Regions from separate parts of the Homo sapiens genome. Here all the other regions are linked to region 1. Evidence: promoter capture Hi-C in 16 types of primary human blood cells and fetal thymus (Javierre and others, 2016). All regions are on one chromosome and are shown on one strand. The core of a region is centred on a gene start or on the middle of the fragment in contact, and the rest is flanking DNA. Distances in the headings are between cores, read along the strand shown. Region 1 holds the start of ATP6V1H (ATPase H+ transporting V1 subunit H). Region 2 overlaps LYPLA1-TCEA1 (LYPLA1-TCEA1 readthrough). Region 3 overlaps LYPLA1-TCEA1 (LYPLA1-TCEA1 readthrough). Region 4 overlaps LYPLA1-TCEA1 (LYPLA1-TCEA1 readthrough).

Evidence for each region. Contacts are between HindIII fragments. The CHiCAGO score rates a contact against its expected background, and 5 or more counts as called.
Region 2: a fragment that was not itself captured here is called in contact with the fragment with the promoter of ATP6V1H in region 1 in 4 of 17 cell types (neutrophils, M1 macrophages, M2 macrophages and 1 more); the score reaches 6.6 in neutrophils.
Region 3: a fragment that was not itself captured here is called in contact with the fragment with the promoter of ATP6V1H in region 1 in 11 of 17 cell types (M0 macrophages, M2 macrophages, M1 macrophages and 8 more); the score reaches 11.6 in M0 macrophages.
Region 4: a contact is called between a fragment that was not itself captured here and the fragment with the promoter of ATP6V1H in region 1, in 6 of 17 cell types (M1 macrophages, M0 macrophages, M2 macrophages and 3 more). The highest score is 7.9, in M1 macrophages.

What each region holds. Positions count from the first base shown.
Region 1 is chr8:53,839,625-53,846,260 of GRCh38, reverse strand. ATP6V1H (ATPase H+ transporting V1 subunit H) reads left to right here and starts at 3,016. Exons shown (of 14, transcript NM_015941.4): 1 at 3,016-3,227; 2 at 4,536-4,683. The coding sequence starts at 4,571. RefSeq lists enhancers at 1,581-1,630, 2,928-3,067 and a silencer at 2,708-2,857. The HindIII fragment of the contact is 7,596 bases long and covers 1-6,636 here.
Region 2 is chr8:54,050,086-54,056,721 of GRCh38, reverse strand. It overlaps LYPLA1-TCEA1 (LYPLA1-TCEA1 readthrough), which reads left to right. Exons shown (of 21, transcript NM_001425842.1): 6 at 1,589-1,662; 7 at 3,966-4,067; 8 at 5,534-5,710. It overlaps LYPLA1 (lysophospholipase 1), which reads left to right. Exons shown (of 9, transcript NM_006330.4): 6 at 1,589-1,662; 7 at 3,966-4,067; 8 at 5,534-5,710. It overlaps LOC133039971 (Uncharacterized LOC133039971), which reads right to left. Exons shown (of 3, transcript NR_189620.1): 3 at 5,946-6,636. Among named protein-coding and RNA genes, the nearest start is that of TCEA1, 31 kb to the right of the region's middle. The HindIII fragment of the contact is 4,437 bases long and covers 1,597-6,033 here.
Region 3 is chr8:54,010,954-54,017,589 of GRCh38, reverse strand. The region is part of intron 12 of LYPLA1-TCEA1 (LYPLA1-TCEA1 readthrough); the gene reads left to right. The region is part of intron 1 of TCEA1 (transcription elongation factor A1); the gene reads left to right. Among named protein-coding and RNA genes, the nearest start is that of TCEA1, 8.2 kb to the left of the region's middle. RefSeq lists a silencer at 5,029-5,128. The HindIII fragment of the contact is 2,000 bases long and covers 2,729-4,728 here.
Region 4 is chr8:53,995,075-54,001,710 of GRCh38, reverse strand. LYPLA1-TCEA1 (LYPLA1-TCEA1 readthrough) reads left to right here. Exons shown (of 21, transcript NM_001425842.1): 14 at 1,661-1,766. TCEA1 (transcription elongation factor A1) reads left to right here. Exons shown (of 10, transcript NM_006756.4): 3 at 1,661-1,766. Among named protein-coding and RNA genes, the nearest start is that of TCEA1, 24 kb to the left of the region's middle. The HindIII fragment of the contact is 2,348 bases long and covers 2,805-5,152 here.

The DNA of each region.
Region 1 (6,636 bases), core at 1,767-4,266:
GCTTTGGCAATACCAAAGCAATCAGAAGTTGTTAGGACAGTTGGTTAGAGCACTTTGTGAAGGGGTCATGACGTCACTACTCAGTGTTACCATTAGGCCAAACTAGGCCAGCTTCTTGCAAATGCCTATTGTTCCCAAGGAGACTGTGTGAAAGAATGGAAAAACCATTCTTCCATTAAACTAATAATTTATTCAGTCAGCTATAAAAACTTCTCAAAGTCCTTGTGTAACTGAAGGTAGGCTGGCAGCATAATCTTCACTTGGGGGTGGTAAGTTTTCATGACAAATATTTTAGAATAGGATTTTCTTTGACTAGAACTCTTCTACTTCTGTGGGCAAATATAAGTTCAATTCATACTTGGAAAGAAAAGATTGGAAATGATGGTGTTTATAGCATTCCATATATTTCAGACAGAAGAAATTCCTTTGAAACGTCATATATTTTCTACCTTCTGATGATTCCTAAGTGGTAGATTCCTAGTTTACATCTCCAAACATGTAATCCTATTCTAGTGAAGAATTGAACATTAACTTAATAAATACATTATTAATATTATTTTCTCCTGTCCATATAGATTCATCTAACTTCCCCTTATGTCATTTCTAAATAACAAATCTGAAGCTCAATTTCAAAGAAATTACAAAGTAGCTCAAAGGTTATCTTTCTTATGTCATAATACAGCAGTCCCCAACCCTTTTGGTACCAGGGGCCAGTTTCGAGGAAGACAATTCTTCCACAGACAGGGTGGGAGGTGATGGGGCTGGTTTCAGGATGACACTGTTCCACCTCAGCTCATCAGGCATTAGATTCTCATACAGAGTGTGCAACCTAGATCCCTTGCAATGTGCAGTTCACGATAGGGTTCATGCTTCTGTGAAAATCTACTACCGCTGCTGATCTGACAGGAGGCAGAGTTTAGGCGGTAATGGGGCTTGCCCGCCGCTCACCTCCTGCTGTGCAGCCGGGTTCCTAACAGGCCATGGACCACACCAGTCTGTGGCCCAGGGTATGGGGACCCCAGGTATGTTATATAATTAGGTAACTGAGATCACCGCTATGGTCTGTGTCTCCCCAAAATTCCTGTGTTGAAATCCTAACTCCCAAGGTGATGATATTAGGAGGTGGGACCTTTGGGAAATGATCAGGTCATGAGGGTGGAGCTCTCATGAATGAAATTAATGTCCTTATGAAAGAGACCCCAGAGAGCTCTCTCACCTCTCCACCATGTGAAGCTACAATGAGAAGACAGCAGTTTGCAACCTGGGACAATCCTTCCCAGAACCTCACCATGATAGCACCCCAATTCTGAACTTTCAACCTCCAGAACTGTGAGAAAATGACTTTCTGTTGTTTATAAGCCACCCAGTCTACAGCACTGTTACAGGAGCCTGAATGGACCAAGAAAAATCTCCGATAGAAGTGTTACAGAAATAATGTTAAGAGAGATAATGCCGGGAGTACCTGCCTCTTCTCTTCTCCCTACTCCAGGCAAATTGTCTGGTAATGTTGTGATGCTCGGAGAACGCCAGCCCAGGTGCCTGTGAAGCAGTCCCCTCTGCTCACTGCACTGTTCCTGATTTTGTTCCATAACTTTGTGCCTCTAGGAAAAGAGGAGAGCCTCCCGAAATCTGATGAGACTCGCTGTATCACGCCAGTCTGTGGCTTAGGTGATACAGAAAGGAAATGCGAAGATCAGGCCTCACTGCCAGCTTTGCTCAGTTACACAGAAAACATGCTGTTTCAGCTTTTGGGAGTTTCTTAGTACACGATCGGTTTCTTTTTCTCTTTTATGAAAGTTTTTCCCCTTAGATTTGCTTTCAAAACAACAGACTTTCACTTCTGGCTAAGACAGAATGAGTGACCTAGTACAATCTTTGACACTGTTATTATATATCTTTATTCATAATCAATGCATGATTTTGATTATTCTGACTTTAATTTTACGAGTAAAAATGGGTTGGTTATAAATCCCTTTCAAAGAATTTTTTTTTTTTCTTTTTGAGACGGAGTTTTGCTTTTTCTGCCCAGGCTGGAGTACAATGGTGCGGTCTTGGCTCACTGCAACCTCTGCCTCCTGGGTTCAAGTGATTTTCCTACCTCAGCCTCCCAAGCAGCTGGGATTACAGGCATGCGCCACCACACCCAGCTAATTTTTTGTATTTTTAGTAGAGATGGGGTTTCACCATGTTGGTCAGCTGGTCTCGAACTCCAGACCTCAGGTGATCCACTGGCCTCGGCCTCCCAAAGTGCTGGGATTACAGGAGTGAGCCACCGCGCCCGGCCCCTTTCATTGCTTTTTAAGGAAAACATGCTATCATATATACTTCACCTCCAGGGCAGTACATTCTTACTTTAAGGCAAAGACAGTTGCTGAGGCCTGGACTAGGGGAAAATTTGGGCTCCAGATGGGACTGTTGGATAAAATACCAGACGTCCTGTAAATGTGAATTTTAGATAAACAACGAATAACTTTTTAGTATAAAAGTAAATACTGCAATGGAATTTATTATTTGCTAAATGTGCAACCCTAGGTTAAGAGAGCTTTTCAGACCCACTTCTCAGCCCGAGTTTTCTATTTAAAATCAGAATAAGAACGCCTGCTTCATGGAGCTGTTAAATCCAAATGGAAATTAATTTGAAAGCGCGAAATCAAACTTTTCAAAAGAATGACGGTTACAATAAGAGCGTTTTGGCCTCTGCTAGCTGCTTCCGGGCGGAGGTCCTCGGCCTCCCCTAGGCGAGGCACTAGGTCTGGGGGCGGCGGGTCTTAGCGTGCCCGCCACGCTCGCCGCCTCCCACCTGCCCTGGCTGGCTGGGGCCCGACCCTTGCGTCGCTCCGGGGCCCAAGTTACGGACTCGGGAATCCAGTTGTCCGCACCGAACAAGCCCCGCCGCAGCGCCCGCCCCTCCTCTTGCTGCTTTGGAGTCTCCCGGCTTCCGCCTTCCGCAGCAGTCACGTGCCTCCGATCACGTGACCGGCGCCTCTGTCATTCTACTGCGGCCGCCCTGGCTTCCTTCTACCTGTGCGGCCCTCAACGTCTCCTTGGTGCGGGACCCGCTTCACTTTCGGCTCCCGGAGTCTCCCTCCACTGCTCAGACCTCTGGACCTGACAGGAGACGCCTACTTGGCTCTGACGCGGCGCCCCAGCCCGGCTGTGTCCCCGGCGCCCCGGACCACCCTCCCTGCCGGCTTTGGGTGCGTTGTGGGGTCCCGAGGATTCGCGAGGTAAGGCCGCCCTCGCGTTGTTTGGTCTCAGGCTGCAGACCAGGTCAGGCGACTCTTGCAGTTTCTCCAGCTTGCCTGGTGCGTGCTGGTGTCTCGCCGCTTGGTCCTCTCCTGTTCTTCGGCCCCCGGTTGCCAGATTGCTTTTCTTCCAGGCCTCAACCAGGTTTATTAAGCGAAATTCTGGAGCCTTTCTCGCAGGGGGAAGAAACGTCAGGGGCGGGCAGGAGAGTGGAGGGGGAGGGGTAAAAAGTATACCTTCTCCAGGACTGGGCCACGGCCCTGGATCGCTGGGGGTGCGAGTAGTTCAGGGACTTAGGTAATTGTCTAGAGACACCTTGAGCTACGCCAGGACGGGCCGCTGAGGCTGAGCCTCCTTGGCTGCAGAGTTCCAGCCTGGCCCAGTTGAAGCCTGTTTTTTCCTGGGCCCTGTCGTTCGCGCTGCCCAGGGTTGTTTATACAGCAAATCTTCAGATACAGAGATTAAGTTCCAAATTGATTAAGATCGTTGGAAACCCGGAATATAATTTTGGGTAGGATTTTAACTTCTTTGTGGCCATGGCCGTGAATTTATGTTTTGCAAGTGGCAACCTGTATTTTGCTTTGTGTTAAAATCAGTCGTTTGTATCTGGAAGTTTAGGAGTGAGAATTACATAGAATTTCATTATTGTAGGTTCTTGTCGTCCAGCCAGACCGCCATTGTTGGCTTACCTAAATTGTAATATGTATTTGTTCTAAAACTTTCTCTCCGAATTTTGATTTTGCAAATACTATGAATTTTGTTTGAAAAGGAAAGCACTGTCTTCTAAGAAATTATGTTCCCACTTTGTGTATTTTAATTTGAGTAATTTTCGAAAGGACTTAGAATTTTTAATGTGCCACTTCAAAATGATGCTTAGTAAATGTTTATAAAACTAGCCTTATCCGTACTATTCATATTCTTATTGTTTCTCTATGAGAAAAGTTAACCACAATTGTATAAATTTACAATTTTTCCCATATTTATACCTATTCTATTTAATCATGATTTCTGATTTCAGTATATTAGGTGATTGCTTTAAAAATCTTACTGCAGTGTTAGTGCCAATAATGAAAAAAATTTTTCTAGAAAAGCAAAAGCCTAAAGAACTCTTTTATGGAGCAGTGGACAATATTTGAAATATAATGATACTTTCAGACTTAGGACATTTAATATTTGAGTTGAATGCCTGGGGAGATTAAAGTGATCACGATATTCATAATCATAATATTAATAGTTGTAAAAAAAAGAAACACCTCGTATTCTGTTTTTACCTTGCATCAAAATTGAAGATTTGTTGAAAGACATTCAAGATTACGAAGTTTAGATGACCAAAATGGATATCCGAGGTGCTGTGGATGCTGCTGTCCCCACCAATATTATTGCTGCCAAGGCTGCAGAAGTTCGTGCAAACAAAGTCAACTGGCAATCCTATCTTCAGTAAGTACCAATTTGCTGTGAATCATGGACAGTCATATGCTTTTGCATCAGACTTTTTCATGGTCATGCTTCTATGAGAGAAATACAGGGAAAATACTGAAAAATGTGGAAGAAACACTTCCTCTTCAGAATAATTAGCTGTCTTAGGGAGTTAAGTGTAGTGGGGTGGAAACAGCTTGGCGCCCTAGTGGGGAAGCAGAGCGGCTTATGGTGCTTTTGACCTTCTCTGGCTGCCTGGGGAAGTACTTTTGGAATAAGTGGGAAACATAGGAGGAATGTCCTTGGGCTAACGGAGGGAGGAAGGGGATGAGGGGCAAAACCTGCTAGACTGGTCTGATATGCCCTGGCAATCAGCATGGGGGCAGGTGGCCTTTTTAGAGTGGTGCATACAACTAATAAGAAGCACAGATATTTGAGTTGAGAGACTTGGATTTGAGTTTTGGTTCTTGCTATTAGTTTGGTGATCTTAAGCAAATCACTTAACTTCTCTGAGGCTCAATAAAGTAAAATGTGAAATGGGGAGACATACCCCACAGGCTTGTTGCTGAAATAATGTATTTATTAGCACAGTAGAATACAAGCATTAGTATGTTGAATACAATACATTTTAGTTCCCCCTTCTTTCTTGTATGTATTAATATTTAATGTGCTGATGTTTCAGTATTTTGTATTTATCTATAAAGTGAGCATTCATGTATTCTTGACCATATTTTATTGACTTCATATTTATTTTGGTATATTTATAACTGAGTTACCAAGGAATTCAGTTCAGATTTGCATATGCATTTTGAAAAACAAATTGAGGAATCTAGTTTTATATTAGTGTTAATTTTATATTAGTATTAATAGTTTGTGTTGTTGTAGGAGGGATCTATAATGTACAAAAATGATCCTTTAATTTCTGTTAATTTAATCACTCATCAAACATTTATTGATTACCTGCCAAGTTTGAGGCATTTTTCCAGGCTTTGAGGCTACAAAAATTCCATACAGAGTACTGTCCCTGAAGGAACTAAAACTCTAGTAGGGAAGTCAGATGTATTAATAGATCATTTTAATTCACTATTTTTTTTTTTTTTTGAGACAGAGTCTCACTCTGTTGCCCAGGCTGGAGTACAGTGGGGCAGTCTTGGCTCACTGCATCCTCCGCCTCCCGGGTTCAAGCAGTTCTCCTTCCTCAGCCTCCCGAGTAGCTGGGATTACAGGCACCTGACACCTTGCCCGCCTAATTTTTTTGTATTTTTAGTAGAGACAGGGTTTCAACATGTTGGCCAGGCTGGTCTCGAACTCCTGACCTCGTGATCTGCCCCTCTTGGCCTCCCAAAGTGCTGGGATTACAGGCGTGAGCCACCGTGCCCGGCTCTAATTCAGTATGTTAACTGTGGCAATAGAAAGATGCACAGGGTCTGGCAGGTGCACATAAAAAAGACAAGTAATTCTACCCCTTGGAAATTTTCCTGAAGGGGCTGGTCCCTGAACTGAGTTTTTGAGGATGATGGGTATTTAGCCATGTGGCAAGTAGGAGCAGCCTTGGGAATAGAACAGATAATGTGAGCAAAGGCAGGGAAGCAAAAACAGCACACTGGGTGGGAGTCATACATGTTTTGGAGGCAGGCAATGCAGAGAGCTGAGGCTAGAGAGGCAGCCAGGGGCCGATCGTGAAGATGCTGTGTGTGGGTGTGTGGTTGGAAGGAGTTTGGACTTGATCCTATCAGTCAGTGCTTTTCAAGCTGATTTTTAAGCTGTGAAGCCCATGATTGATATGAAGTTAGCATGTAAAACAGATGAAAATGATAGAATGGAGGTGGGAGTGTGTGTCCCAGAGCCCTCTTTTTGAGACCATTCACCATTTTCCAAGGAGCTGTAGGTGTTGGAAACCAATGAATCTTGTAGCCGGGAGTTAGAAGACCATATCTGCCTCTTGATTGAATTGTTCTACTAGCAGCATGAAGG
Region 2 (6,636 bases), core at 2,566-5,065, 210 kb before region 1:
AGGATGGTCTTGATCACTTGACCTCGTAACCCACCCTCCTCGGTCTCCCAAAGTGCTGGGATTGCAGGCATGAGCCACTGTGCCCGGCCTGGCCCATTTTTTGATCAGATTATTAGATTTTTTTCCTATAGAGTTGTTAAAGCTCCTTATATATTCTGGTTATTAATCCCTTCTCAGATGGGTAGTTTCCAAATATTTTCTCCCATTCTGTGGGTTGTCTCCTCACTTTGTTGATTGTATCCTTTGCTGTGCAGAAGCTTTTTAACTTGATGTGATCCCATTTGTCCATTTTTGCTTTGGTTGATATGCTTGTGGGGTATTTCTCAAGAAATTTTTGCCCAGACCAATGTCCTGGAGATTTTCCCCAATTTTTTCTCGTAGTAGTTTCATAGTTTGAGATCTTAGATTTAAGTGTTTATTGTGATTTGATTTTTGTATACAGCAAGAGATAGGGTCTAATTTTATTCTTCTGCATATGGATATCCAGTTTTCCCAGGACCATTTTTATTGAAGAGACTGTCTTTTCCCCAGTGTATGTTCTTGACACCTTTGTCAAAAATGAATTCACTGTAGGTGTGTGTGTATAGATTTGTTTCTGGGTTCTCTATTCTGTTCCTTTAGTCTGTGTGTCTGTTTTTATGCCAGTACCATGCAGTTTTGGTTACTATAGCTCTGTAGTATAATTTGAAGTAAAGTAATGTGATTCCTCTAGTTTTATTCTTTTTGCTTAGGGTAGCTTTGGCTACTCTGAGTCTTTCGTGATTCCATATAAATTTTAGGGGGCTAGGCACGGTGGCTCACGCCTGTAATCCTAGTACTTTGGGAGGCCGAGGCGGGCGGATCTCGAGTTCAGGAGATCGACCATCCTGGCTAACACGGTGAAACCTCGTCTCTACTAAAAATACAAAAAATTAGCCGGGCATGGTGGTGGGCACCCGTAGTCCCAGCTACTTGGGAGGCTGAGGCAGGAGAATGGCATGAATCCAGTAGGCGGAGCTTGCAGTGAGCCAAGATCACGCCACTGCACTCCAGCCTGGGTGACAGAGCGAGACTTTGTCTCAAAAAAAAAAAAAAAATAATTAGGATTGTTTTTCTATTTCTGTGAAGATTGTCATTGGTATTTTCATAGAGATTGCATTGAATCTGTAGATTGCTTTGGGTGATTTGGGAAAAATATTCCATGGTCATGGATTAGAAGAATTCATGAACAATAACAATCAATATTGTTATTGGTTCTTCTTATCCATGACCATGGAATCTTTTTTCCATTTTTTGGTGTCCTCTTTCATCAGTGTTTTATAGTTTTCATTATAGAGACCGTTCACTTCTTTGTTTAATTCCTAGGTATTTAATTTTATGTGTGACTATCGGAAATTTGATTTTTTTAAAATTTCCTTTTCACGTTGTTCTCCGTTGGCATATGAAAATACATTCTAATTTTGTATTTTAATGAAGTGCTTTGAATTTTTCACTCATTTCCACCTTAAAAGTAATTGCGCTTTTCTATTACTAATTTTTTCCTAATTTAAATTTTATCAGTGGGCTTAACTCTGAAAGTATTGCTGACTAACTTTCATGTTGTTTTTAGTAAAAGCTTTGATTGATCAAGAAGTGAAGAATGGCATTCCTTCTAACAGAATTATTTTGGGAGGGTTTTCTCAGGTAAGATAAAATTTGAGTGGAATGTCAGTACCATCAGTATACTTATTTAGAAGTCTGTGCATTAATCCTTTCTATAGAGTAGTCTTTTTTGATGTTATAGAATCTTGACTGATACACTTACCTTTGATGTTTAATTAAGTTTCAGTGTACTGGAACTAATTAATTTCTTCTTGAAAGAACTATAATACACATGTACACATGTAATTAAATTTCTAAGTTAACACAGTTTATCCTTTTAATTAATTAAAACTGATAACACAGGCATGAGTCCCCTCTATAGGAGGAGACTACTGATAGGAACAGTAAAGTGGAAGACAAGAGAATTTCTTCCCTTTACCTTCACGTATTACAGGTTTTAGGTATGAATATGTGGTGTTTATTTTTGGCATTTTTCTTTGTCTCTGTACTTTTTCCCCTGCTTTCTGTACTCCCTCCACAGACGTAGCTTCCTCATACGGACCTTTCTTTCATGGCTACTGCGGCATATAAGCTGTTTGCCATGGAACCAGTCCCCAGATGCTCTAACTTATCATCTGTAAATCTTCTAAGTTAGCAACTTAGTGTTTGGATTACCTTAATTAGGGAGATGTTTGGATTACCTTAATTAGGGAGATGTCAGAATTCTGAAATTATTTAGAAGATAGAATTCAGTAGAAAGATTTGTTGATACAATATAGTGAAAAGGTGTTACTGATTTGGTGTTTGTTGAAATTCACAGATAATGTATATTGTAATACACATTGTGACATAAACATAGGGACAGAAATTAATGATCCAGGCCAGGCACGGTGGCTCACGCCTGTAATCCCAGCACTTTGGGAGGCCAAGGTGGGTGGATCACTTGAGGTCAGGAGTTCGAGACCAGCCCAGCCAACATGGTGAAACCCTGTCTCTACTAAAAATACAAAAATTAGCCGGGCATAGTGGTGCACGCCTCTGTAACTCCAGCTACTCCGGAGGCTGAAGCAGGAAAATCACTTGAACCCAGGAGCCAGAGGTTGCAGTGAGCCAAGATCGCACCACTATACTCCAGCCTGGGCAACAGAGCTGAGACTCTGTCTCAAAAATAATAATAATAATGATCCAGAATAACAAGTTCATGTGGGAGTCTGTATATTTGATATTCATTCATTACAGTATATAGAAACCAACTCAATACCTCAAGCAAGGAGTAAGCAATGAGTCTGTGGCATCCTATCAAGGAAACTGAGGAGGAAAATGAGGCAAGGCCTCAGGAAGTAGCTAGAAATTGAAAAGCAGTTGGGCCTTGCTCACCATCTCTCATCTCTTGTTTCTTTGCTTGTCTGTTTCATTTACCTTTCCATAAACAATTGGCCATCTTGGCTTTTGCAGCCTATAGCTTTTCCAGCTCTTGAATTTACATGTTACAGGTGTAGCCACACAGAGAGTGACTGGTGGTCATCGAATCCCATTTCCACAGTGCCAGGAGAAAACATCACTGCCTGGGATGTGAAAGGCTCTCGTGTACTCATGTGTTGCAGTAACCCATGGGCATGGTCAGAGTGATGGGGCTTCTGGATGCTGGCAGGAGTACAGCTTCCAGAATGTGGGATGTTGTGAGCTGGGTAGGCAGATACTCTGAAGGTGTCTGCTAAATAGTTATTATTATCTTAAATTCTCATTTAGAAAGTAATACCAATTTAAGGGCCAGGCACGGTGGCTCACACCTGTAATCCCAACACTTTGGGAGGCTGAGGCGCGTGGATCACCTGAGGTCGGGAGTTTGAGACCAGCCTAACCAACATGGAGAAACCCCGTCTCTACCAAAAATACAAAATTAGCCGGGTGTGGTGGTGCATGCCTGTAATCCCAGCTACTCGGGAGGCTGAGGCAGGAGAATCGCTTGAACTCAGGAGGCGGAGGTTGTGGTGAGCCAAGATTGCACCATTACTCTCCAGCCTGGGCAACAAGAGTGAAACTCCATCTCAAAAAAAAAAAAAAAAGTAATACCAATTTAAGAGCAGATTGGATTTTATGCCTAAAATTCTGCAAAGGAGAAAATATAAATTCAGAATATTCGTAAGGCATGTTGTAAGTGCAGCAGTTTCCCATGGTACAAACTATGTCTCGTCGGAAAGGAAGTCTGTATGTTCTCTGGTGTAGAGAACCGCATCCTTTAGGACACGGTGGGGTGTGTTTGTATTTCCGATATTTGCCTGATTTGATTTGACACCAGCCACCAAGTTTGATTTTTTTATGGATATCATTAGTAACAAGATATTCCCTAAATTGCTGTGGGCAAGCATGTGTGTTCCATTGACTTTCCCTGCTTGTCTTTTCAGGGAGGAGCTTTATCTTTATATACTGCCCTTACCACACAGCAGAAACTGGCAGGTGTCACTGCACTCAGTTGCTGGCTTCCACTTCGGGCTTCCTTTCCACAGGTAACTTGGTTGATGCACTCAACATGAGATTACTGAGCTAAAGGTAGCTAGTAGATATTGTTGGAGATAAAGTCATCTTATTTTTTTTTATTAATAAACTTTATTTTTTGGAGAAGTTCTAAATTCACAGCAAAACTGAGCAGAAGGTACAGAGTTACTATCTACCTCCTGTCCCCACACATGCACAGCCTCCCCACCATCAGCATCCCCACCTCCACAGCCATGTTTTTGCTGCAGTCAGTAATGCTGCACTGACACATCACCATCACCAAGTCCTCCACTTACAGCACTCATCCTTTTTTAAAAATAATTTTCTTAGACTTTTGTGATGTATTACTAGGCCTTATTTCTGTACGCTATACTGTCTGTATTGTGGAGTACATAGAATGGAATTAGAAAGAAACCTTATTGTCACAAATCTTATATTAGAAGGATTTGATACATTTTAGGATATATATGAAAATTAGGACTTTTTTTAACATATAGAAATCATACTTATTTTTAGACCAGGTGCGGTGGCTCATGCCTGTAATCCCAGCACTTTGGGAGGCTGAGGCGGGTGGATTACCTCAGGTCAGGAGTTCAAGACCAGCCTGGCCAACATGGTGAAACCCCATGGCTACTAAAAATACAGAAATTAGCTGGGCGTCGTGGTGCACACCTATAATCCCAGCTACTCAGGAGGCTGAGGCATGAGAATCACTTGAACCCAGGAGGTGGAAGTTGCAGTGAGCCACGATTGTGCCACTTCACTCCAGCCTGGGTAACAGAGCAAGACTCTGTCTTTGGGGGAAAAAAAAAAAAAAAGATAGCTGAATAAAACAGCAACTCAAAATACTAAAACAACCAACCAAACAAACAAAAAAAAGCTGAAAATATAAAGATGGATTAAAATATAATCTGCTTGGCTGGGTGCAGTGGCTCACGCCTGTAATCCCAGCACTTTCGGAGGCCAAGGCAGGTGGATCACAAGGTCAGGAGATTGAGACCATCCTGGGTAACACAGTGAAACCCTGTCTCTACTAAAAAATACAAAAAAATTAGCTGGGCGTGGTGGCACGTGCCTGTAATCCCAGCTACTTGGGAGGCTGAGGCAGGAGAATTGCTTGAACCTGGGAGGCAGAGGTTGCAGTGAGCTGAGATCACGCCACTGCACTCCAGCCTGGGCAACAGAGCAAGACTCCGTCTCAAAAAAACTAAACGAAACAAAAAAATGTATATATAATCTGCTTCAAGGAACTCATTCACTGGGAAGATATATATTATAATATGAGGCAAGGTGATCATACATCCTATAGAAGTCAAAGGGATGTGGTGAGTATATGGATGAAGGAATTTTATTTTTTTGGCCAAATGTAACTTCTAATATGTTATATATATGCATATTTATGTACAATTTTAAATGCCTGGCATAGTGTCCTATACTTTTACAAAAATAAAACTATTTCTTCTTTTGCTTTTTGCAGGGTCCTATCGGTGGTGCTAATAGAGATATTTCTATTCTCCAGTGCCACGGGGATTGTGACCCTTTGGTTCCCCTGATGTTTGGTTCTCTTACGGTGGAAAAACTAAAAACATTGGTGAATCCAGCCAATGTGACCTTTAAAACCTATGAAGGTATGATGCACAGTTCGTGTCAACAGGTAGGTGTCTAGAAGCAGTGATCAGCGCCATATTTGTAACTTTTTTCATGTGATATTTTCAAGAAAAGTAACATTTGAATGCTTGGGGATTTAAATGAGTTAATTCATATTGAGTCATAAGTTAGCAGTCATTAGATGAGTGTGTATTCAACTTAATTCAACAAATATTTACTGATTGGCTATTATACACAGCATTGTACATAATTCAAAGATGAATAATAAACATTCCCTTTCATTAAAATTTAAGATAAAATTTAATAGAAAGATGCATGTCTAAGTAACTGTATGGATAGCAGAATGTGATATACATTGTATTAGAAGCTTTAAAAAGTGCCCTTGGAAAATAACAAAAGGTGCCCTGAAAAACTGAGAAGAGATTAATTTTATCTTAGGAGGCACTGAGACCATGATGAAACAGCTAGATTTTGAAAAACGGTGGGATTTGGATAGCAAATGTGCAGAGAAAGAACTATAGGACAGGAAAAGCAAGCCATTCAGTCTTAGGAAAAGCTGGGCATGATAGGACAGAAGACATAGGGAACAGAGACTCTTTGTGCTGAGAAGGGACTTACTAGACTTACTCTCTAGGCAGCAGGAAGCTGTCAGTGTTTTTGGTTGAAGTGAGATGTGATCTGATCTACATTCTAGAGACAGGTGATCCAGCAGGATTTAGAGATTAATTATGTGGGGTGTAGTAACCAAGGAAGTATCAAAAGGGCCTGAGATTTCTAGTTCTGATGCCATCATAAAAAGTAGGTGCAAGAAACAGTTTTAGAGTAAAGGAAGGAGATAATACTGAGTTTAATGTATTGAGATCAATGTGCCCCCACAATATCAAAATAGGATATTGGAAATACTTGTCTGAAGTTCAAGCCTGGAAATGGAGATTTGAAATAATTACTAATATAATTGATCAACGAAGAATT
Region 3 (6,636 bases), core at 2,479-4,978, 170 kb before region 1:
TGATCTAGAACTCCTGAACTCAAGTGATCTGCCTGCCTTGGCCTCCCAAAATGTTGGGATTATAGGCACTTAGCCTGGGTGACAGAGCGAGACAATGTCTCAAAAAAGAAAAGAAAAGAAATAAAGGAGAGAAAATATGTTTACTGTTCATGAAGTGGAAATGTGTCGTCGTAAAGGTCTTCATCCTCTTTGTCTTCACATTGAATAAGCTGAGGAGAAAGGAAGAGTTGGTTTTGTCATCTAGGGTTGCAGAGGTGAAAGAAAATTCTCAGGTGAATCTGTGCAGTTTAAACCCATGTTATTTGAGGGTCAACTGTTAATTCAGTGGCTTTTAGTGTATTTACGGGTTTGTGCAACTATTACTACTGTATAATTTTAGAACATTTTCATCACTCCAAAAAGAAACCCTGTACCTATTAAGCAGTCACTCCTCATTCAGCCCTCATTTGCCCCCACCAATTTCTCACACGCCTCTGACAGCCACTAATATACTTTCTGTCTGTGTGTTTGCCAAATCTGGAAATTTTCTGTCAGTGAAATTATACAGTATGTGGTCTTTTGTAACTGGCCTCTTTTGCTTAGTATAGTCTTTTTTTTTTTTTTTTTTTTTTGAGACGGAGTCTCATCTTGCTCTGTCGCTCAGGCTGGAGTGCAGTGGCGCGATCTCGGCTCACTGCAACCTCCGCCTCCCAGGTTCAAGCAGTTCTCCTGTCTCAGCCTCCCGAGTAGCTGGGACTATAGGCGCGCACCACCACACCCGGCTAATTTTTGTATTTTTAGTAGAGATGGGGTTTCACCATATTGGCCAGGCCGGTCTCAAACTCCTGACCTCATAATCCGCCTGTCTTGGCCTCCCAAAGTGCTGGGATTTCCACGCGTGAGCCACACCGCCTGGCCTGATTTTTGTATTTTTAGTAGAGACAGGGTTTCACCATGTCGGCCAAGCTGGTCTAGAACTCCTGATCTCAGGTGATCTACCCGCTTCAGCCTCCCAAAGTGCTGGGATTACAGATGTGAGCCACTGCACCCAACCACGATTTGCTTATTCATTCATCATTTGGTGGACATTTGGGCTGTTTCAGCTTTTTGGCTGTTGTGAATAATACTGTTAAAAACATTGCTGTACAAGTGTCTCGCTCTGTCACCCCGGCTGGAGTGCAGTGGTGTGATGGCTCACTGTAAGCTCCGCCTCCCGGGTTCCCACCATTCTCCTGCCTCAGCCTCCCGAGTAGCTGGGGCTACAGGCACCCAGCACCATGCCCGGCTATTGTATTTTTAGTAGAGACTGGGTTTCACTGTATTAGCCAGGATGGTCTCGATCTCCTGACTTCATGATCTGCCCGCCTCGGCCTCCTAAAGTGCCGGGATTACAGGCGTGAGCCACCGCGCCTGGCGACATATGTTTTCATTTCTGTTGGGTGTATACCTCGGAGAATAATTACTGGGTCATATAGTAACTATGTTTAACCTTTTGAGGAACTGCCAGACCTTTCCAGTGTGGCTGCACCATTTTACATTCCAACTAGCAGTGTGTGAGGATTCCAGTTTCACCTCATTTTCACCAATATCATTTGTCTTGATTATAGCCTTCCTAGTGGGTGTAAAGTGGTATTTCATTGTGGGTTTGATTTGCATGTCCCTTGTGATTAACAATGTTGAGCATCTTTTCATTGCTTTGTGGCCATTTGCATATCTTCTATGGAGAAATAAATGTCTATTCAGATCCTTTGCCCATTTTTTAGAAAAGAGTCAGGGTCTGGCTATGTTGCCCAGGCTGGAGTACAAATTGGATTAGTCCATTTTTAAATTGGGTTGTCTTTTTATTATTGAGTTGTAAGAGTTCTTTATATTCTGAATACTAGAACCTTGTTAGATATGCTGATACTGTCTCCCATTCTGTGGGTTGTCTGTCTGCTCTTGGTTGTGGCCTTTGAAGTATAAAATATTCTAATTTTGATGAAGATGAATTTATATATATTTTTCTTTTGTTGCTTGTGCTTTTGGTGTAGTTTAACTGCAAATTTGAGATGACATAGTAATATCATAAGTCCTAGCTTTATAGTGATGTTATTGAGCTACAACTCAAATATCTATAATTCATTGTTTAAGAAAATAGATAATGGGCCAGGCATGGTGGGTCACACCTGTAATCCCAGCACTTTGGGAGGCTGAGGTGGGCAGATCACGAGGTCAGGAGTTCAAGACCAGCCTGGCTAACATAGTGAAACCCCATCTCTACTGAAAATACAAAAATTAGTTGGGCGTGGTGGTGGGCGCCTGTAGTCCCAGCTGCTTGGGAGGCTGAGGCAGGATAATCGCTTGAACCCAGGAGGTAGAGGTTGCAGCGAACTGAGATCACGCCACTGCACTCCAGCCTGGGCGACACAGTGAGACTGTCTCAAAAAAAAAAAAATGGATAATATCTTAATTCTTTAACCTTGAAATCTTATAATAATGCCTATGAAGAAGACATTATTATAGAAGAAGTAACTGTTTTACTTGATTGAGCTTAAATATGATCACTGAAAATGCTGGCTTATGGCCCCTGGAGATTATTGTTATGGTAGAAATAAGTAATTATTTGTATATTTTTGTACTCCTCATCAACCATGCTATGTGTCAGACCCTCTATTTTGATACTTTATCTGTGTAATGTTGCCTCATTTGGCTGTTTTAACTACTCAAGGTTGGTGTGTTATGCTCACCTACGTATAAAGAAGCTGAAGCTTGAAAAGGACAAATAACATTACCCAGATCTTGTAGTTAGCAAATGTCAGAGCATGGATTTGAATCTAAATCTGTCATATATGTACACCATATTCTTAACTATAAATCCCTATTACTCCCTCCTTTTTACATCTCCTTGAGGAGAGGGATGTTCGTATCCTACATGGTCTTGAGTATACTGAGCACATAGTACAAGTATCATGGTTTATAAAATCACTTGTTTTCTATTACCAGATAGGAGCACCAACAATGTAATAAAATAGTGTGATAGCTGTAGTTTATCTTTCAGCCAGTAGTGTGAACTAAATTTGGCTCTGGAAATTAAAGAAGAGTCTTTCTTTCTCTTGCATCATCTGTAGGAGATGCTACAATCTCATAGACTTGGACATGTATTCTTTTCTTTTCTTTTTTTTTAAATAGAGGTGGGATCTCATTCTGTTATCCAGGCTGGTCTCGAACCCCTGGGCTCAAGTGATCCTCCTGCCTTAGGCCTCCCAGAGTGCTGGGATTACAGGCTGAGCCATTGTGCCTGGCCTAGGCTTGACATTTAGAGCTAGGTGATGCTTGGGGAAGGCTAAAATACAGCTTCTTGTTTGGTGATACTAGTCATCTGAATTCACAAAGGAGTGCTGCCACTGGCGCACTGCTGGGGAAAGGGCAGCAGTATAAGGGTCAGGCGACTAGTTCATGACCTTACTACCCGTCAGTATGACCTTGGGCAAGTCACTTTTCTTTTCTGGGTTTAAGTTTCTTTTTTTTGTGTGTAGTTAAGGGTTTGAAATAGATGATTAAAGATTTCTGTTTGTTTTAAAATTCCCTGATGTCAGAAAGGGTTTCAGTCTTGCTCACTGCTGTATCCCCAGTACAGTAGAGCTTGGTACATTTGACATTACTGGAGTAGATCTTACCTTTTCTAGTTAGTAATCATAGAACCTTGTGCAAGTTTCTTGACATATTTCCTCATCTGTAAAATGGAGATAATACCTGCTTCTATAGGGTTTATGGTGAAGGTGGAATTAAATCTATGTGAAGTATTTAACAATGCCAAGCACATAGCAGCACTCAAAGTTTGTTGTCACCGAATTAATGTATGATTATCTGTTTTGCATTTCACTCATTCAGATCATCATAGTTATTTCTTTTTGTTTGTCTGTTTTTTGTTTTTTTTTTTTTTTTTTTTTTGAGATGGAGTTTTGCTCTATCGTCCAGGTTGGAGTGCAGTGGCACGATCTCGGCTCACTGCAACCTCCGCCTCCTGGGTTCAAGTGATTCTCCTGCCTCAGCCTCCTGAGTAGCTGTGGGATTACAGGTGCCCGCCACCACGCCCCGCTAATTTTTGTATTTTTAGTAGAGATGGAGTTTCACCATGTTGGCCAGGCTGGTCTCGAACTCCTGAGCTCAGGTTGATCCTCCCACCTCGGTCTCCCAAAGTGCTAGGATTACAGGTGTGAGCCACATGCATAAGCCACCGTGCCCAGCCCATAGTTATTTCTTAAAGACCCTTCAGTGAAATATTTATTTGAATTAGTTGGAACACAGTGCAGTTTTCAGAAAGGTCATAGTTTTATTCCGTGAGTGTTACTTTTAGCTTTTTATTCCAACCATGGCCTCACCAGAGAGCTGAGTAGAAAAGGAAAGTAACAAAATTAATGCAAATATATTGCCTCTACTTGGAAAACAATTTAAACTGTATGTCTCATTGCTGATATGTTGGAAGAATCAACTTAATACTTAGGAAACCCTGCTTTTTAAGGAACTTCTAGAAGTGTGATTCTTTACCCTTATTAAGAGATTCTTGGTCAGAAGTGGATCAGAAATCCTGGAAATGTGGATAGAAGAAAAATGTCAATGGTAAATGGAGAATACAGGCCCACAATCTTTTTTTTTTTTTTTTTTTTTTGTCGTCGTCGTTTTTTAATTTTTATTTTAGAAATGGAGTCTCACTCTGTCCACACAGGCTAGACTGCCGTGGCACGATCATGGTTCATGTAATCTCAAGCTTCTGGGCTCGAGCAGTCCTCCCGCCTCAGCTTCTGGAGTAGCTAGGACTACAGGCACTATGGCCAGCTAATTTTTTATCTTTATTTTTTGTAGAGAGGGGGTCATGCTGTGTTGTCCAGACTTCTAGAGTTTGTTAATCAAAACCCTTAGGGTCTGATATATTTGGTAATTCCAGATTTTTCAGATTTGATAAAGATAATTTGGTATATACATCATATATTACATAATACCCCCAGCAGGATTTGGGCACTTCAGCAACCAGACATTAACATTTCTTTTTTTTGTTTTGTTTTTTGTTTTTTTGAGACGGAGTCTCGCTCTGTCGCCCAGGCTGGAGTGCAGTGGCGCGATCTCGGCTCACTGCAACCTCCACTTCCTGGGTTCAAGCAGCTCTCTGCCTCAGTCTCCTGAGTAGCTGGGATTACAGGCACCCGCCACCACGCCCAGCTAATTTTTGTATTTTTAGTAGAGACAGGGTTTCACTATCTTGGTTAGGGTGGTCTTGAACTCCTGACCTCGTGATCCATCCACCTCGGCCTCCCAAAGTGTTGGGATTACAGGTGTGAGCCACTGCGCCCGGCCTTAACATTTCTGTAGTCAGTTGTAATAGTCACATTACGTGGCATAGAGCACAAATAGCTTTACATGTGTTGTGGTTAGGTTTAGCTGCCAAATGAGTTTACCTATGAGAAATCTAGAAATCTTTTGCTTTTCAAAGGTTTTTGGTCTGGAAATTTGCAGATAAGGGATCGAAGACTTCATTTACTCACAACAATGTCATACCTGTAGAAATGCTTGTTTAATAATACGTTTTAAGTCAGTGTTAGATTTCTTTTCCAACAACTTTAATGTTTTACTGTTTCTAGATGACTAAATAGGAAGAATTTATAGAATTTTAAGATTAGGAGAGATCTTTAAACAGCAAATAATTAAACATTACTTATAATAACGTGTCATAATTTCTGTTGAACTTAAATTTTTATTTATGAGGTATTGGGTTGAATTGAAATGATGTAACTCTTTGTTACCAGAATAAAAGCTAATGGTTTTATTCTGGAAGGCCAAGCCTAATGTCTGTCACCTTTAAATGAAAAATTACATGACTAGAAGCCTTTACTTGATTTTATATCTAAGAAATAAAGTGATACTATGAGAGTCTTTGCTCGCTTTTTCCTTTGGCGTGTTGAATGAGGGACGTGCTGTGGTTCTTTCTGTTTTTTTGGGGGGATAGCGTGTATTTCATTGATTTGTAGGGTGCCTGTTTTCATACTTAAACATTTTAGAAAGCAGGATAGGTACACATATCATTGGCCAGATGGCCATTGTAATGTTCTTTCACAGGCAGAATGCTAAACCTAGCATCAGAACTTGTGGAATGAGTGTCATTGGCTTGGAAGGAAATCTGAGAGAGGATTTCTTTCTCTTTGAATCCTGAGGAACCAAATGACTGTGAAGAGCATTGGAGGTGAAAAGCAGCTGTGCACACTACTACAAAGCCAGCCCTAGAGCTCACGGCATTAGCTTTTTTGTGGATTCTTCTATGAAATGCTTTGTCACTTGTGTTCTTAAACAGCTCTTTGTGGGGTAAAAACAGATACTGTTGAATCTGAGTCAAAAAGTTCTGAATGTGAAGTACTTTTAGTAACAGCCAATTTTGTTTTACTTATATGTATGTTTTTACATATGTAAAAGGTGACGTGGTAAAAACTTCAACTCTAAAATAATTCTTTCAATAAGCAAAAGTAGAAAGAAGTTATAATGCCAGGCATGGTGGCTCACGCCTGTAATCCCAGCACTTTGGGAGGCCAAGGCAGGCAGATCACCTGAGATCAGAAGTTTGAGACCAGCTTGGCCCCCATCTCTACTAAAAATACAAAAATTAGCCCAGCGTGGTGGTGTGTGCCTGTA
Region 4 (6,636 bases), core at 2,729-5,228, 150 kb before region 1:
TCACCCAGCAGTACACAATTCATCATCTCCTTACACCTTTGCTCTCCTGCAAGCCCCTAGTAAAGTGCCATTTTATTTTTTTGCACGTTTGTGTCAGTTCTAAGCTTCAGAACCACACTAATAAGTTATTTCCTCTACACATTCAAAAAGTGGAGTTTTTTTCCTAGTAAACTAGCCTTGTTAACCCCAAATTGTTTGGGGCTTTAAAATTGTGGAGTCCCTTTATCTTTCTGCTGTTCAATCTTGTCTGTTTTGCTCAGCTTTCTAAGAGATATAGGACACTCTAGCCAACCACATATTCTAAATTCTTGAATAAAACTTAGATCCTGAATCTGTTTGTTGAGAGGATTGAATAATTTAGAAGGAAACCTCAAGTACCCGTATATTTTTCTACCGTAAAGCTTACAATAGGGTGTCTCTTTTTTTTCACCACTAAGAATTCCTTTTGTTATTTTTTTCTTCCATAGACCATATGTTTGAAATATTGTCTGTTAACAACCCGAACTTACTAAATAATATACCATTTTTTATTTATCATCCATATTTGGGCTGTCATAGCTTTTGTGTTCTTTGAGCACAATTTGAAACCATTAATGTGCTACAAAGACCATGGACTTCGGCAGTGAACAAACCTGGATTAAAATCCCAGTTTTTGGCTGGGCCGGTGGCTCATGCTTGTAATCCCAGCACTTTGGAGGCTGAGGTGTGTGGATCACCTGAGGTCTAGAGTTTGAGACCAGCCTGGCCAACGTGGTGCAGTCCGTCTCTACTAAAAATACACAAATCAGCCGGGCGAGGTGGCATGTGCCTGTAATCCCAGCTACTCGGGAGGCTGAGGCAGGAGAATTGCTTGAACCAGGAGGTGGAGGTTGCAGTGAGCCAATATCGTGCCCCACTGCACTCCAGCCTGGGTGACAGAGTGAGAGTCCGTCTCAAAAAAAAAAAAAAAAAATCCCAGCTTTGCTGGTTGGTAATGGTGTGATGCTGGGCACGTTATTTATTGGTACTTCCAATCTCTTCATCTTTAAAAATAGGGATGATCTCAACTTTGAAGGGTTGTTAGAAAGATTGATGAATGTGGATGCTCTAAGCATAATTCTAGGCACGTAATTATCACAGGTTAAATTTTACCTGTATTTTGTGAAGTGCATTTTAATGTCTCTGATTATATGCTGGTTCCTGGCAAAATAAAGCCTTTTAAACCTGGATAGGTGGTAGTTTTTGTTTGGATATCCTCATAATAATTTGCAGCTGGTGCTCTATGAAGTAATCCATGTAGAGGAATGTATAGAAACAAAGAAATGCATGTATTAGTCATGATTGCTTCAGCCTGACTTATATACAACATTATATATTTTATCCTCGTTTATCTTCACTTCTCCCTTGTGGAAAGATTGATTGCATTTTTCTAGTTAACCAGACTTATTACAGTAGTGAATTTTATGCTTCTAGATCTTGATGATAAGAACATTAATGAGTCTAGTGTTTGATCTGAAGATGTATGTATCTTAATATAATTTGCTATTATAAGGATCCAAAAATTGAAGTTTTGAAATTCTAAAATAGAAACAGGAATCTGGGAAAGAAAAGAATGTAGGTGAAATACTAATTTGTTTAAAATAAAATTGGTATACATAATTTTTTTGTTATTGCCTTGCAGTCCACAAGAATCGGAATGTCAGTTAATGCTATTCGCAAGCAGAGTACAGATGAGGAAGTTACATCTTTGGCAAAGTCTCTCATCAAATCCTGGAAAAAATTATTAGGTATCATTGATCTTCCCTTACATATATTTATGATGTTGTGATTTATTCAAATAGTTAATGGTTACATTTTATGGTTAGTTAATGGTTACATTTTTTTCTTAGTGAATCTAGATATACTGAAAGCAGTGCCTCGTAATAAAGGCGAGGGGAGTTAATTTGATCTTTAGGGTTTTTTTGCCTTTTAGGCCAGTCAAATTTGGCTTTCTTAACTTTTGACACAACTGGATAAACTCTTTCAGTAAGAAGAATTTTCTCTTAAAGGAAAGGTTGTGGATACCTTTTGAAATGGTTTTTGAAATTTTTTGACTTACAGAAAACTTGCAAGGATGATTAAAAGAATGCCGTATCCTTTATCCATATCATCAATTTTTAATATTTGCCATATTTGTTTTATCATATTCTCTCTTTTTCTTTCTCTATTTGCACACACACAAATTATTTTTTTCGGAACCATTTGAAAGTAGGTTGAATATATCATGCTCTTTTACCCTTTAAATACTTGCGTGTATTTCCTTACTACAATCTTATTTTTTTATGGAATCATAGTATAAGAAATATAGGAAATTTAACATTGGTATAGTATTTTATGGTTTATGTTCAGGTTTGTCAGTTGTCCCAATAATGTTTTTTTATAGTTCTTTTGTTTTTCTACCTTCAGGAAAAGATCCACTTCAGGATCACATAGCTAGTTTTCTTTCTTTTTTTTTTTTTTTTTTTTTTGAGACTGAGTCTCACTCTGTTGCCCAGGCTGGAGTGCAGTGGTGCAATCTCGGCTCACTGCAAGCTCCGCCTCCTGGGTTCATGCCATTCTGCCTCAGCCTCCCGAGTAGCTGGGACTACAGGTGGCCGCCACCACGCCCAGCTAATTTTTTGTATTTTTAGTAGAGACGAGGTTTCACCGTGTTAGCCAGGGTGGTCTCGATCACCTGACCTTGTGATCTGCCCGCCTTGGCCTCCCAAAGTGCTGGGATTACAGGCGTGAGCCACCTCGCCTGGCCTCACATAGCTAGTTTTCTAATTTGAAATCATTCTTAAGCTTTTCTTTATCTTTTATGAAATTGACATTTTGAAGAATACAGGTATCCCTTCTCCTTTGTTTTCCCCCCAAGGCAGAAATGTTCCTTTCTCATTTGAAGACCAACCTGTTTACTTAGGTTCATGATTTTACTTTTTCTTTGTTTTTGGTCTGTGATCTTTCACTATCAATTATCACCTGTGTAGGAAATGTACATAGGGTCCTAGCCCAACAAATATGAATTCCCTCACCTTAAATTTTATTTTGGGGCTGTCAATTTTTTGTTGATATATTTCCTGAAAGTCAAATTTGGAAGGAAAGAAAATTAAACGCAATTTTGTCTTTCACATTAATTGCACAAACCCAATAAAAAAAATTACTGTTGTGGGCCATGCTTTAAAATTTTATGTGTGTGTGTGTATATATCCTGTCCCTTCCCCCTCATTCCTGGTCCCCTGCCTCAAGTAGGGCTAAAAGAAACAAGGTCATTTCCTATAGAAGAAAGTATGTATGCCTCCTGAATATGTGGAGTTTAACTTTTTATTTTGACATAATAAGTGACTCACAGAAAATTACCACAAAAAAAAAGTACAGAAAGGTCTCATGTACCCTTTATCCAGCTTCCTCCTATGGCAATATCACATAACTCTCATATACAGAATCTCAACCAGGAAATTGACAGTGATACAGTCTACAGACCTTATTCAGATTTCATCAGTTTTTACTGGCGCTAGTGTATGTGTGGGGGCATGTATCCTTCTGAGCAATTTTATCTTACATATACATTCATGTAACCATCATTAATGTGTATTTTAAAATACTTTCATGCAAATCAGATTTTTATCAAATTCATAATGGGCTTAAAAAATAGAACTTGGATATGTTATACAATATGCAGAAAATGACCAATTGTAATGAATGCAAAGTGGAATTGGATTTTGGTTTAAAAGTAAACTAGGAAATATATTCAAGGCAGAATTTCCCACATTTTTAAGTTGTATCCTTGAAGCAGGTTTATTCCCCTATCCACCCCCTTTCCCACCACTTTTTTTGTTTTGTGTTGAAATAGGGGTCTTGCTATGTTGCCTAGGCTAACCTCCAACTCCTGGGTTCAAGCAGTCTTTCACATCAGACTCCTGAGTAGCTGGAATTGCAAGCATCCGCCACTGCCCTCCTTTGTTATTTATTTACTAATTTGAGACAGAGTCTCACTATGTTGCTAAGGCTGGTCTTGGACTCTTGGGCTCAAGCGATCCAACCTGCCTTGGCCTCCCAAAGTGTTAGGTTTATAGGCGTGAGCCATCGCGCTTGGCCCCTCCTTTGTTTTTAATAGCATATTCCTTATTTGAGGTGTACCTGCTTTTTTCTCATGATTAGATCAGGTTGTACATCCCCAGTTGGAATACTGTTTAAGCATGTTATGTCCTTCTCAAGGTATCATATCCAGAGTGATTGATAGTAATTTTGAGAATCTAGTCAAAGCCACACTGTATAGTGTATTGTTTTTCCTCTTGTAGCTAATAGCCATTCTGTGGGAGACACTTTTAAGATCCTGAAACTGTCTTACACCTTAACAAATCTTTTTCCTCCCCTCCCAATTTAGGATCCATTGATTTTTTGCTCAAACCAATCTTTGTAGTAGTAGTTGCAAAATTGTGATTTTTCTGACTCCTCTGCTTCAATACTTATAAAATCATCATTCTGTTAGAAGAAGAACCTTCTGGCCAGGCATGGTGGCTCACGCCTGTAATCTCAGCACTTTGGGAGGCTGAGGCAGGCAGATCACGAGGTCAGGAGATCGAGACCATCCTGGCTAACACGGTGAAACCCCATCTCTACTAAAAAAATACAAAAAAATTAGCTGAGTGTGATGGTGAGCACCTGTAGTCCCAGCTACTGCTACTCGAGAGGCTGAGGCAGGAGAATGGCGTGAACCCGGGAGGCGGAGCTTGCACTGAGCCGAGATCGCGCCACTGAACTCCAGCCTGGGCAACAGAGTGAGAGTCTGTCTAAAAAAAAAAAAAAAGACAACCTTCTTTTTACCCCTTAGCTAGTTATCCATTAGTGTAGACTCGCAGGTTCCTTTTCTGTATAATGGATTGTAATACATTACTATTCAAATTTAATTTGCATAAATTTTACCCCTACTATAATTTTACCTATGCTGTGTGTGTACTTAATTTATATTACCTTTTTTAATGAAAATAGTTTGTTTTTCTATCATAACTATTATTTTTATTGGTTTCAGAATGATTTATTCAGTTGACTATACCATATTTTAGTTGATCACTTGCCAGTTGTTAGATTTCTTGTTTTTAACTTTATGGTGGTTGTAACTAATGTCTTGATGGATATCTTTCTGCCTAAAGCTTTTTCTTTACATTGTTAGCTAGATTTCTACATTTACTACTACTGCTACTAGGTAGCACATTGTTGAGTACTTAAGATGTGCCAAGCATTGACCTGTATTAATGCATTTAATCCTCACAACAATCCAATTTGGTAGGTGCTATTATAATCTCCATTTTATGATGAGGAATCTGAGGCACTGAGCGGTTAAATACCTTGCACACAGTTGAATCAGTGGTGAATAGCCAAGCTGGGACTTGATTGCAGACAGCTGGAGTCCAGAGCTGGAGCACCTCCTTCCCAGCTAGCTGGACTGTGTTGCCCACAACACCGTATCAGATAGTAGGAATGCTTCTGAGGCTGTTCATGCCTCTTACTGCTCTGCTGTCTAAAAGGATTGTACTAATTCACTGTGCCAGAGCAGTGTGTGAGATAGTTCTGCTGTCCCTTTGGCAGCATTGGATCCTTGCTGGATCATATTTCATTGTTATATCAGTTTTCCCTTTTAAATGCTTTCTACCCTATTACTTTTGGACCATTTCTTAGTCCTTGCCATGTGTCATTATTAATCTTTGTTTTCAGTGTTACAGTACTATAGCATCTTTGGGATTTGAGCCTTCAAGGAAATTATTGAGAATAACAAGGAGCAGTAAAATTATGTGAAGACTAAAGTGTATGTGCGTGTTTTATCAGAGGGCTTGAATTGTGTTTTAGGTTTGACAAACTTCAACTTTACAAGATGAGTTCTACAGTTGTGATTTCAACCATTCTCTTATCAGTGATTCTCATCCAGACAACTATATATTAGAGTTGTCTAAGGAACTTTAAAAAATAATGATGCTTGCGCCTCACTGCCAGAGATTTGGATTGAATGGATCTGGTTCGGAGCTTGGCATGAGGATATGTTTAAAAGCTCCCTAGGTGATTCTGCTATCCAGTTGGATATAGTTTCTTCTATATTCTATACAGAGAGATGTGAAGAATTGAAAGAATTCTTTATGTAGCCTTTATTGCTTATGTAGGGAGCAAAATGTACTTAACTGGTATACTTTGTACAGTAGACCCAAACGTTTTCTGAACTTAGCTTCAAGGCTATGTGTTTTGTTTTTGTTTTGTTTTTTTTGAGACAGGTATCACTCTGTCATCCAGGCTGGAGTGCAGTGGTGCAGTTATAGCTCATTGCAGCCTCAAGTTCCTGGGCTCAAGCGTTCCTCCTGCCTGGGCTTCCTGAGTGGCTGGGACTACAGGCATGCACTGAATTTTTCTTTTTTTTTTTTTTTTTTTTTGAGACAGAGTCTCACTCTGTCACCCAGGCTGGAGTGCAGTCGCACAATCTCGGCTCACTGCAACCTCCTCCTCCCAGGTTCAAATGATTCTCCTGCCTCAGCGTTAGCTGGGATTGCAGGTGTGCACCACCATGTCCAGCTAATTTTTGTATTTTTAGTAGAGATAGGGTTTCACCATATTGGCTAGGCTGGTCTTGAACTCCTGACCTCAAGTGATCCA